3 separate regions of the Homo sapiens genome follow, and all the other regions are linked to region 2. The links are contacts of gene promoters, found by promoter capture Hi-C in human tissues and cell types (Jung and others, 2019). All regions are on one chromosome and are shown on one strand. Each heading gives the region's core, a stretch centred on a gene start or on the middle of the fragment in contact. The rest is flanking DNA. Distances are from core to core; before and after follow the strand shown.

Region 1 (2,980 bases), core at 118-2,617, 660 kb after region 2:
AGGAGGGATGGACCCCCACAGATCATTGTAAAAGGTTCTTACAAAGAAAAATCCTCCTGGACTGGGCACGGTGGCTCACGCCTGTAATCCCAGCACTTTGAGCGGATCACACTTCGAGACCAACCTGACCAACATGGAGAAACCCCGTCTCTACTAAATTAGCCGGGCGTAGTGGCGCATGCCTGTAATCCCAGCTACTCTGGAGGCTGAGGCAGGAGAATCGCTTTAACCCGGGAGGCAGAGGTTGTGGTGAGCCGAGATCGCGCCATTGCACTCCAGCCTGGGCAACAAGAGCGGAATTCTGTCTCAAAAAAAAAAAAGAGAGAAAAGAAAAATCCTGGAAGTCAAGTAAAAATGTGTGAAGGTGTTTTATAAAATATGAAATATCTAGAATACACAAATCTATAGAAGGACTCGGGGAAAGGGGAGTGAATGCTAATAAATACAGAGGTTCTTTCTGGGGTGATGAAAATGTACTAGTACTGATTGTGGCCGCGCTAGCACAAAAATCCGTTTCATTGGCCAGACGCTATGGCCCAGGGAAAAAAAGAAGGACTAGGGGGAATGGGGAGTGAATGCTAATGAATATGCAGTTTCTTTTTGTGGTCATGAAAGTGCACTAAAATTTTCATGCTAGCACAAAAATTGAATTGTACACTTCAAATAGGTGTATTTGTGATGTGCATTCTAGCTCCATAAAACTCAAAATGTGTGAAAATTCTTTGTAACTTTACTAAAAATTGGGGGCACTCTATAGTTTACAAAACTATCCCCATCCAGGCAGGGCACGGTGGTTCACACCTGTAATCCCAGCACTCTGGGAGTCTGAGGCGGGCGGATCACCTGAGGTGAGGAGTTCAAGACCAGCCCGACCAACATTGTGAAACCCCGTCTCTACTAAAAATACAAAATTAGCCGGGCGTGGTGACGCATGCCTGTAATCCCACTTACTCGGGAGGCTGAGGCAGGAGAATCGCTTGAACCCGGGAGGCAGAGGTTGCAGTGAGCTGAGATCGCACCATTATACTCCAGCCTGGGCAACAAGAACAAAACTCCGACTCAAAAAAAAAAAAATTCTCCATCTAGTCCTCTGAGGTGAGCAGCATTTTGTTTGTTTGTTTGTTTTGTTTGTTTTGAGATGGAGTCTCGCTCTTGTTGCCTAGGCTGGAGTGCAATGATGCGATCTCAGCTCACTACAACCTCTGCCTCCCAGGTTCAAGCGATTCTCCTGCTTCAGCTTCCCGTGTAGCTGGGATTACAGGTGCGCACTACCATGCTTGGCTAATTTTTGTATTTTTAGTAGAGACAGGGTTTCACCATGTTGGCCGGGCTAGTCTCGAATTCCTGACTTCAGGTGATCCACCCACCTCAGCCTCCCAAAGTGCTGGGAGTACAAGTGTGAGCCACCGAGCCCTGCTTATTTATTTATTTATTTATTTAGAGACAGAGTCTCTGTCATCCAGGCTAGAGTGCAGTGGCACTATTTCAGCTTACTACAGCCTCCGCCTCCCAGAGCTAAAGCAATTCTCCTGCCTCAGCCTCCTGAGTAGCTGGGATTACAGGCATGTGCCACCACACCCGGCTAATTTTTGTATTTTTAGCAGGTGGCGTTTCGCCATGTTGGCCAGGCTGGTGGTGGCACAATTGGAGGGCAGAAGGGACAGTAAAAGATGCCCTAGAAGCTCAGAAGAAGGAAAGACCTCAGAAGGCTTCGACGCATGGGTGGGGCTGCTGTTGCAGCTGGACCTTCAAGGATGATAGAATCTAAACAAATGCAGTAGTAATGAAAGAGGTAAAAGATGGGAAACCATGGAAAATATACAGAGGTAATAATTAGATGAAGCCCCCACGTGGTGACTTGTGCCTGAAATCACAAGTGTGCCCAGAAACGGGGCCTCACTGTGTTGTCCAGTCTGGTCTCGAACTCCTGTTTCAAGCAATCTTCATGCCTCAGCCTCCTAAAGTGCTGGGATTACAGGAGTGAGCCACTGCATCCGGCCACCCTTCATTTTAAAAGTACATTTCTGGCCAGGTGCGGTGGCTTATGCCTGTAATCCCAGCACGTTGGGAGTCCAAGGCGGGCCAATCACTTGAGGTCAGGACTTCAAGACCAGCTTGGCCAACATGATGAAACCCCATCTGTACTAAAAATACAAAAATTAGCTGGGTGTGGTTGTGTGAACCTGTAATTCCAGCTGCTCAGGCGGCTGAGGCACGAGAATAGCTTGAACCCAGGAGACAGAGGTTGCAGCAAGCTGAGATCGCACCACTGCACTCCAGCCTGGGTGATAGAGTGAGACTCAGTCTCAAAAAAAAAAAAAAAAAAACCACATTTCTGCCCAGGCGCATTGGCTCATGTCCATAATCCAGCGCTTTGGGAGGCTAAGGTGGGTAGATCACCTGAGGTCAGGAGTTGGAGACCAGCCTAGCCAAAATGGTGAAACCCCTTCTCTACTAAATACAAAAAATTAGCTGGGCGTGGTGGCAGGTGCCTGTAATCCCAGCTACTCAGGAGGCTGAGGCAGGAGAATCGCTTAAACTGGGAAGGCGGAAGTTGCAGTGAGCTGAGATCGTGCCATTGCACTCCAGCCTGGACAACAGCGAAACTCTAAAAAAAAAAAAAAAAAATTAGCCGGGCGTGGTGGCATCCGCCTGTAATCCCAGCTACTCAGGAGGCTGAGGCAGGAGAATCACTTGAACCCAGGAGGTAGAGCTTGCAGTGAGCCAAGATCGCACCATTGCACTCCAGCCTGGGCAACAAGAGTGAAACTCCATCGCAAAAAAACATAATAGTAAGGCCGGGCGCGGTGGCTCAAGCCTGTAATCCCAGCACTTTGGGAGGCCGAGGCGGGCAGATCACAAGGTCAGGAGATCAAGACCATCCTGACTAACACGGTGAAACCCCGTCTCTATTAAAAATACAAAAAATTAGCTGGGTGTGGTGGCGGGTGCCTGTAGTCCCAGCTGCTCAGGAGGCTGA
Region 2 (3,296 bases), core at 715-3,214:
AGAAACCCCCCATGGTCCCTTCCTTCCTGACAATGCCCTCTCTCTCCCTAGAAATTACTGTCCTGCTTTATAATGTATTGCCATGTATGTATTCCTAAATAATATAGTTTGGTTTTACTTATTTTTGAAACTATGTAGACAGAATCATACACATTCTTTTGTGGCTGACTTCTTTCAAGCAACATTGTGATTTTAAGACTCATAACTAGTTCACATCCAAGCATTTGGGTAACAATGGTGAGTTAAGAGGGTTCACATTTGATGATTTGTCCTGAATATGAACCATGTTTGTCTTGCTTTTGTCCTGAAATTCCAATACCCAGTTTTATGATGGAAATTTTGTAAAATTCAACTTGAACCGCTCAGAAGAGTCTAACTGATGATACTCATTTACTGGGGACATAGTATGTGCCCAAGAACTTGACATGCACCTTCTGTCTTCCATTTAGTCATCGTTACCTTTAGAAAAAGCTGATTCCGTTAACAAGATCTTTGGAGGGAATCAGCTTCACAAACGTAGCAGTGGGTGGGGGTCATGTTGGTTAACCAGTTCACACATCAGCTCACTAAAGGAAAAAATATTTCTGCAAAAAATCTTCACTTGTCAGAGGGGGGTGCATGAAATTTGAGAGCCATGTGTTATGCATCCAGCTCTTGAACTGGTCTCAGCTTCAGCTGGCTGCAGTGCCCTAGGAAGTTACTATGGGAAAAGTGGAAATAGTTGAGGCCCAGGGAACTGATCAGGCCAGAGGAAGTGGAAGCTCAAGATCAACTGTGCTTATTTTGCTGATGGCTGGGCCTAAATGCCCCAACCACCTACTTGGGACAGGAAATGACAGGACCCTCTCAACCTTGGACTGGGAAAGGAGGGCTTCCTGGCCCCTGACAGACCCTGGGGTCCTGAGGCTACCTTAGTTGGGATTAAATGCCCGTATTGGTCTCTAGCTGTCACTCCCTCTGCTCCTTCCTCAATTTCTGCACACATCTCAGAGCTTCCTCTAGCAGCTCTTCGACCTGTTTTGTTGTTTTATTTTCTTTCTCCCCAGGTGTGAATCAACTTCTTGGGCCTTGGCTCTGAGTTGGAAAAGGTTTTAGAAAAAGTGAAGAGCTGGAATGTGGGGGAAAATAAAAAGCTTTTTTGCCCAGTGGCGTGTATGGTGTTTATTGGGGGTTGGATTGAGGTGGGGATTTTAGGGTAGGCAGGCTTAGAAGTTTTGGGGGACTCTTTCCTGTTGACTCTCTAGTTTGGACACAGGTTGGCATAGGGCATAGGTTACTTGAGCTCTCCCCATGGTTGACTTGGCTTTGGTAAACACCTGTCTTGTTTTCTTCTACGAAATAAAATGGATAATTACAGTTAGTTGGGCGGGTGGGGTGTCAGGTCATGGAAATGCTGTGACATAAATGCACTGTGACCTTGGCAAGTCTTGCAACCTGCAGCGCCTCAATTTCCGTAAGAGATTTGACCGATTGAGTTTTCCCAGCGTCGACGCGCAAAGATTCCTCGCACTTGGAGGCCCTTTTCCAGGTTAGATGGTTGCTAACCTCGGAGCAGTCTATTTTCCCGCCTTTTCCGCGCCCAGCAGCAGCTTCCTTTGCCCCTCCCAACTTCCACCCTGCGCGCAGTCGCAGATCGCCGCTGCTGTCCGTCCACCCGCGCCCCCTCAAAGCTTCCCCTAGCAACAAGCTCGGGCTCAGAGCGAAGGCGGGGCGAGCGCATGCGCTGCAGCTCTGTCCACCGCCAGTCGTGGGACAGAGTGCCGGGCTCCTCCCCTTGCAAGTCTAGCTCTTCTCCCCGCCTCCTCCGGCCTGGGGTCCGCGTGGCGGGGCGGGCGCGCACTCGGGCTTGGCGGCTGCCGGTCTCCCAGGCCGCGGCAGTGAGGAGAGAGGGCGGGGCTGAGTCCTCTGCGCCCCCGCCCCCTTTAGCCCGGCGTCCCTACCGCGCCTGCGCGCTCCCGCCCGGTCTCCATCTTGGAATTGGGAGGAAGAGGGAGAGGGAGACCGGGACGAGACCGGGGCTGTGGTGCGGAGAGAGGCTGAGACGGAGAAGAGGAGAGGCAGAGAGGGCGCGGGGACCGTCAGCAGCACCTTAGCTACAATCGTTCAGCTATTCTCGGAAGAGAGAAGGGAGAGGGAGGAGGCCGGGGCGGGAGTGGGGGCTGTCACCCTCGGACCCCGGCGTGAGAGGGGCCGTGCGGCCGGACGTCCTCGGGGTGGGCCCCCAGTCGGTGGCCGAAGACCTACAGCTCAGGCCCCTGGGTCCCAAATTTCCAGGCTTTGCCCCTCCTCCTTTCTCAGATACCCGGGTAACAGTCCTCATAGTCCAGATATCCGGGACTCGGGTCCCAACCTCTCTAAACCTGGGTCTCTGTTTCATAGAATTTCAAATATCAGGTTCAGGCCCCTGCGTGCACCAGTATCCGGGGTTCATTCCCCGGGCGTTCAAATATCGGATTCAGTCTCCATCCCGTTCAGATATTCGGGGTTCAGACCCCACAATCAGAAATCCGGAATTCGGCAGCTGTCGCCCTCGACGAGGGGGAGGACTGGACCGCGAGGTCAGATTAGGTTGTCACCCCCTCCCCTCCAGGGGAGGCTTCCCGGGCCCGCCCCTCAGGAAGGGCGAAAGCCGAGGAAGAGGTGGCAAGGGGAAAGGTCTCCTTGCCCCTCTCCCTGCTTGGCAGAGCCGCTGGAGGACCCCAGGCGGAAGCGGAGGCGCTGGGGCACCATAGTGACCCCTACCAGGTGAGACACGGGGTGCAGGGGCGCGGGTCCCTGTGTCTAGTTCTGAGAAGAAAGGGTGCGCCTTTCTGAGAAGCTGGACTTGGGTAGGCCCTCTCAGGATGGGGAAGCCCAGCTGAGCGAGTGGTCAGCCTCTGGCTAGCCTTGCCTTCTGTTGCCACCCCCTTCCCCTTCCTCTTCCCTTCATTGTGTCTGGTTGGTGGGGGACCTCAGGTGACAGGGTCTCTGATGTCACCGGCGTTCACACCCTAGGGTGCTTCAGCTAATCAGATGGATTTGCACTTCAGTCTTCTCTCCTTCACTTTGCCCCTCACAGCCACCTCTCCTCCCTGATATGTCCCGTTCTCCTGGCTATTCTGTGGTTTTGATTCCCATGCCTCTGATTCCCATGGTGGGTCTGCTTATCTGCTTTTCAGGCCTGGTCTGGTTGGATTTCTTGTCCTTGCAAGGAAGTGTGTGTATATGTGTTTGTGTGTATGCGTGTGTGTGTGTGCTTGGAGGTGCCTGGCAATGTTTTCCCCCAGCTGCAGTTACCTTCCAACCTCTTGCTGTGA
Region 3 (3,134 bases), core at 359-2,858, 600 kb after region 2:
GGGCAGGGGAAAGGCCGCTCCCCCGAGTGCATGCGCCTGTGGCTGACCAGCAGTGAGGGGTAGGTGAAGCGGCGGCCGCAGTCCGTGCACACGTGGCGCCGCTGGCCGGCCTGAGCATCCATGCTGGGTATGGGTGCCGGGGGCTGTGCTCCTGTGGTCGGGTCCCAGGCAGCATTTTTGGGTGGCTGTGCCCGTGCCGGGGCCACGCTAATAGCTGGGTCAGGGTTGCGTTCCACCAGCACTTCAGGACTCTCCTTCACAGGAGCCTTTCTAGGCCCTTTGGCTCTTGGGACTTCCTCCGGTTCCTCTTCCTTCCTGTTTGGGACATCTCCTGGGAAACCGGAATTAAGTTACACTTACAAACACTTTTGCACAGACTGTCTCAGGTTATAGAATGCTTTTCACTTAAGGCAGTGAGGGAAGTTCTGTCCAGTGATTAACACACAGGCTTTAGAACAAGGTAAACAGGATTCAGATCTCCTAAAAGTGCCTTATCTGAGCCTTGGTTCCTTATGCATCAAATGGGAATAATAATGGCTTTTGACTTCACAGCGTTACTGGTTTAGCTGAGTAGATGCATGTTAAGCACTTAGGAAGTGCTCAGGAAGCAGGGGCTATTATTTATTTATTTATTTATTTATTTATTTATTTATTTATTTATTTTTGAGACGGAGTCTCACTCTGTCACCCAGGCTGGAGTGCCTGGTTGGACTGGGCTCCCAGTCCTCACAGGACCGCTGTCCCATGTTCTGAAAACTTTGTACCAGGTCTGCCTTCTTTACTCCTCTAGTACCCAACACAGTTGAATTTCTTTAGGGATGCTGGAAGTGGGGGCCTGAAAAGAAACTCTGCTAGACAGGAAGCCCTGGAAAACCAAGTGGGGGGACCCGGGACTATCCCTCACCTCTCCGAGCTCCTCCCAGTCTTTCCCCCTTCTCAGGATCCTGGGCGGCGGGGCTCCAAGCCTCACTCTCCTGTTCCATCCAAGAGATGAGGGCTGGTTTGGGGCCTGGGAATCCTGGGAGAGAACAGGGATCACAGCGCGGGCCTGAGAGGCCATCGTGGGAAGATGGCATTCCCCTCCAGGCTGAGGGCACCCCCTCGGAGCTTATACTCAACCTGGAAGGGGCTGCAGTGCTGCTGCCTGAATGAAATGGATGCGGGTGAAAACACTCCCGAGGGGGTACCTGAAGCCCTGGGAACGGGAGGTGGCTGCTGGTGTTGGTGCAAGAGTGCGGGATTAGGGCTCACAGTCCTCTCGGCCCTTCTACATCATCTCCCCTGTGAACCCGGTGAAGGAGGAGGGGGCTCGGACCCGGGGCTCTCACCGAGCGCGCCCAGGTGGCCGTAGGTCTCCTGCATCACGTCCCGGTACAGAGCCCTCTGCGCGGGCCGCAGACAGCCCCACTCCTCCGGGGAGAAGTACACGGCCACGTCCGCGAAGCTCACAGTCCCGGGCTTCCTGCAACCAGGCCGGGTCTCCCCGGGCCTCGGCGCCAGGAGCGGGGCTGGGGGCGGCGCCATGGGGCCTCGCAGCCCCGATCGGCGGCCGCCAGGTCCCTGGAGCCGCCGCCTCCCCGCTCCCGGCCTCAGCTGTCGTTGTCCACAGGAAGGGCGGCCCCGCCCAGCCGTGGCGTCCGAACGCAGCCGAGGCAACCGAAGTAGCAGGGACTGGCTGCTAGGGATTCGAGGATTCTGATAGGGACAAATATAATTCCTCAGTGTTTATTCACTTCATGGCCGCTTGGACATAGACACCCGGGTTAAGGGACCCGGAAGGTGCCTTCTGAAAATATGGCGACCACCCTTCAATTGTCACAGGCTGCTCTTAAGGGCGCCATTATTTGACCATATCAAATATGGAGCCTTTCTGACTTCTCTGGCCTCATCGTCCCACTTGCCCTTAAATAAAGCCGCTTCGGCTGCTTTTTCTAGTGGGGGAGGCGGGGTGTCTGGGAAGTAGAGGAGAGGCTTCTTGCCTTCAAGAAAGATGTAAGGGCCCGAAGCTTCACTTACCCCTCTGTACCCGCAATACGCAACGGCCGATGATTGGCGACGATCCCGGAAGAAGCTGCGCGGTGATTGGCCTGGGACTGGCGGGGCATTTGAAGGGACCCCGCGGTCCTGAAGCCTCTGTTGACAGACTGGAGCGCAGCGGAGACCTCGGCATCTGCGGTGCTCGGGATTGTGTCCCCTACGGTCTCTTACCGTGCCTCCCGATGGCGGGAGCTGGAATTTGGTCCCCAGACCCCTTGGGAAGACGCGCACACCCTGGCAAACCATGTGTACACCCGCGGTAGAAGCAGGTGCGTGTTTTACAGTAGCTTAGCTGCGGAGTCCACCCAGCCCCTGGCATCCGCAGCTCGGCTCGCTCAGGCTCTAGACCGAAGCTGCAGGCGAAGGAACGTGCTTGGTGAGGATGGAATCGGAATGGGGAAGTTTTAAATTAAATAGTAATTGTTGCTAACATACATGAATTTATTTTTTGTTTGTTTTGAGACAGGGTCTTGCTCTGTGGCCCAGCAGTGCGATCCTAGCTCACTGCAGACTCGACCTCCCGGGCTGAAGCGATCTTCTCACCTCAGCCTCCCGAGTAGCTGGGACCACAGGCGCACACCCAATGCTTGGCTAATTTTTAAATTTTAAAACAGAGACAGGGTCTTGCTATGTTGCCCAGGCTGGTCTGGAACTCCTGGCCTCAAGCAATTCTCCTGCCTCGGCCTCCCAAAGTGCTGTGATTACAGGCATGCGCCACGGTTCCCAGCCATTTCTACTTTTTCTTTGAGAAGGAGTTTTACTCTTGTTGCCCAGGCTGGAGTGCAATGGCGCTATCTCGGCTTGCCCAGGCTGGAGTGCAATGGCGCTATCTAGGCTCACCGCAACCTTCGCCTCCCAGGTTCAAGCGATTCTCCTGCCTCAGCCTCCCAAGTAGCTGGGATTACAGGCATGAGCCACCATGCCCGTCTAATTTTGTATTTTTAGTAGAGACGGGGTTTCTCCATATTAAGTCAGGCTGGTCTCGAACTCCCGACCTCAGGTGATCCTCCCGCCTCAGCCTCCCAAAGTGCTGGGATTACAGGCGTGAGCCACGGCGCCCGGCCCTGCCATTTCTACTTATTTACGTTGTTCCAAAT

Evidence for each region. The method cuts DNA at HindIII sites, captures the fragments that hold promoters and counts their contacts. A contact is called where the count stands out against the background at its distance.
Region 1: a fragment that was not itself captured here is called in contact with the fragment with the promoter of TAOK2 in region 2 in 1 of the 25 tissues and cell types used here (hippocampus).
Region 3: a contact is called between the fragment with the promoter of ZNF688 here and the fragment with the promoter of TAOK2 in region 2, in 2 of the 25 tissues and cell types used here (aorta and hippocampus).

Annotation. Positions count from the first base shown.
Region 1 is chr16:30,634,855-30,637,834 of GRCh38, forward strand. No RefSeq gene overlaps it. Among named protein-coding and RNA genes, the nearest start is that of PRR14, 15 kb to the right of the region's middle. RefSeq lists an enhancer at 1-514. The HindIII fragment of the contact is 7,557 bases long and covers 1-2,980 here.
Region 2 is chr16:29,971,904-29,975,199 of GRCh38, forward strand. TAOK2 (TAO kinase 2) reads left to right here and starts at 1,965. Exons shown (of 16, transcript NM_016151.4): 1 at 1,965-2,745. It overlaps TMEM219 (transmembrane protein 219), which reads left to right. Exons shown (of 6, transcript NM_001083613.2): 6 at 1,047-1,145. It overlaps LOC124903762, which reads left to right and starts at 1,719. Exons shown (of 2, transcript XM_047435036.1): 1 at 1,719-1,877; 2 at 2,094-2,732. The coding sequence starts at 1,719. The coding sequence ends at 2,732. RefSeq lists a silencer at 1,655-2,024 and enhancers at 2,448-3,219, 2,926-3,055. The HindIII fragment of the contact is 10,689 bases long and covers 1,402-3,296 here.
Region 3 is chr16:30,570,106-30,573,239 of GRCh38, forward strand. It overlaps ZNF688 (zinc finger protein 688), which reads right to left and starts at 1,609. Exons shown (of 3, transcript NM_145271.4): 1 at 1,329-1,609; 2 at 905-1,018; 3 at 1-331. The coding sequence starts at 1,524. RefSeq lists an enhancer at 1-514 and a silencer at 1,377-1,616. The HindIII fragment of the contact is 17,900 bases long and covers 1-3,134 here.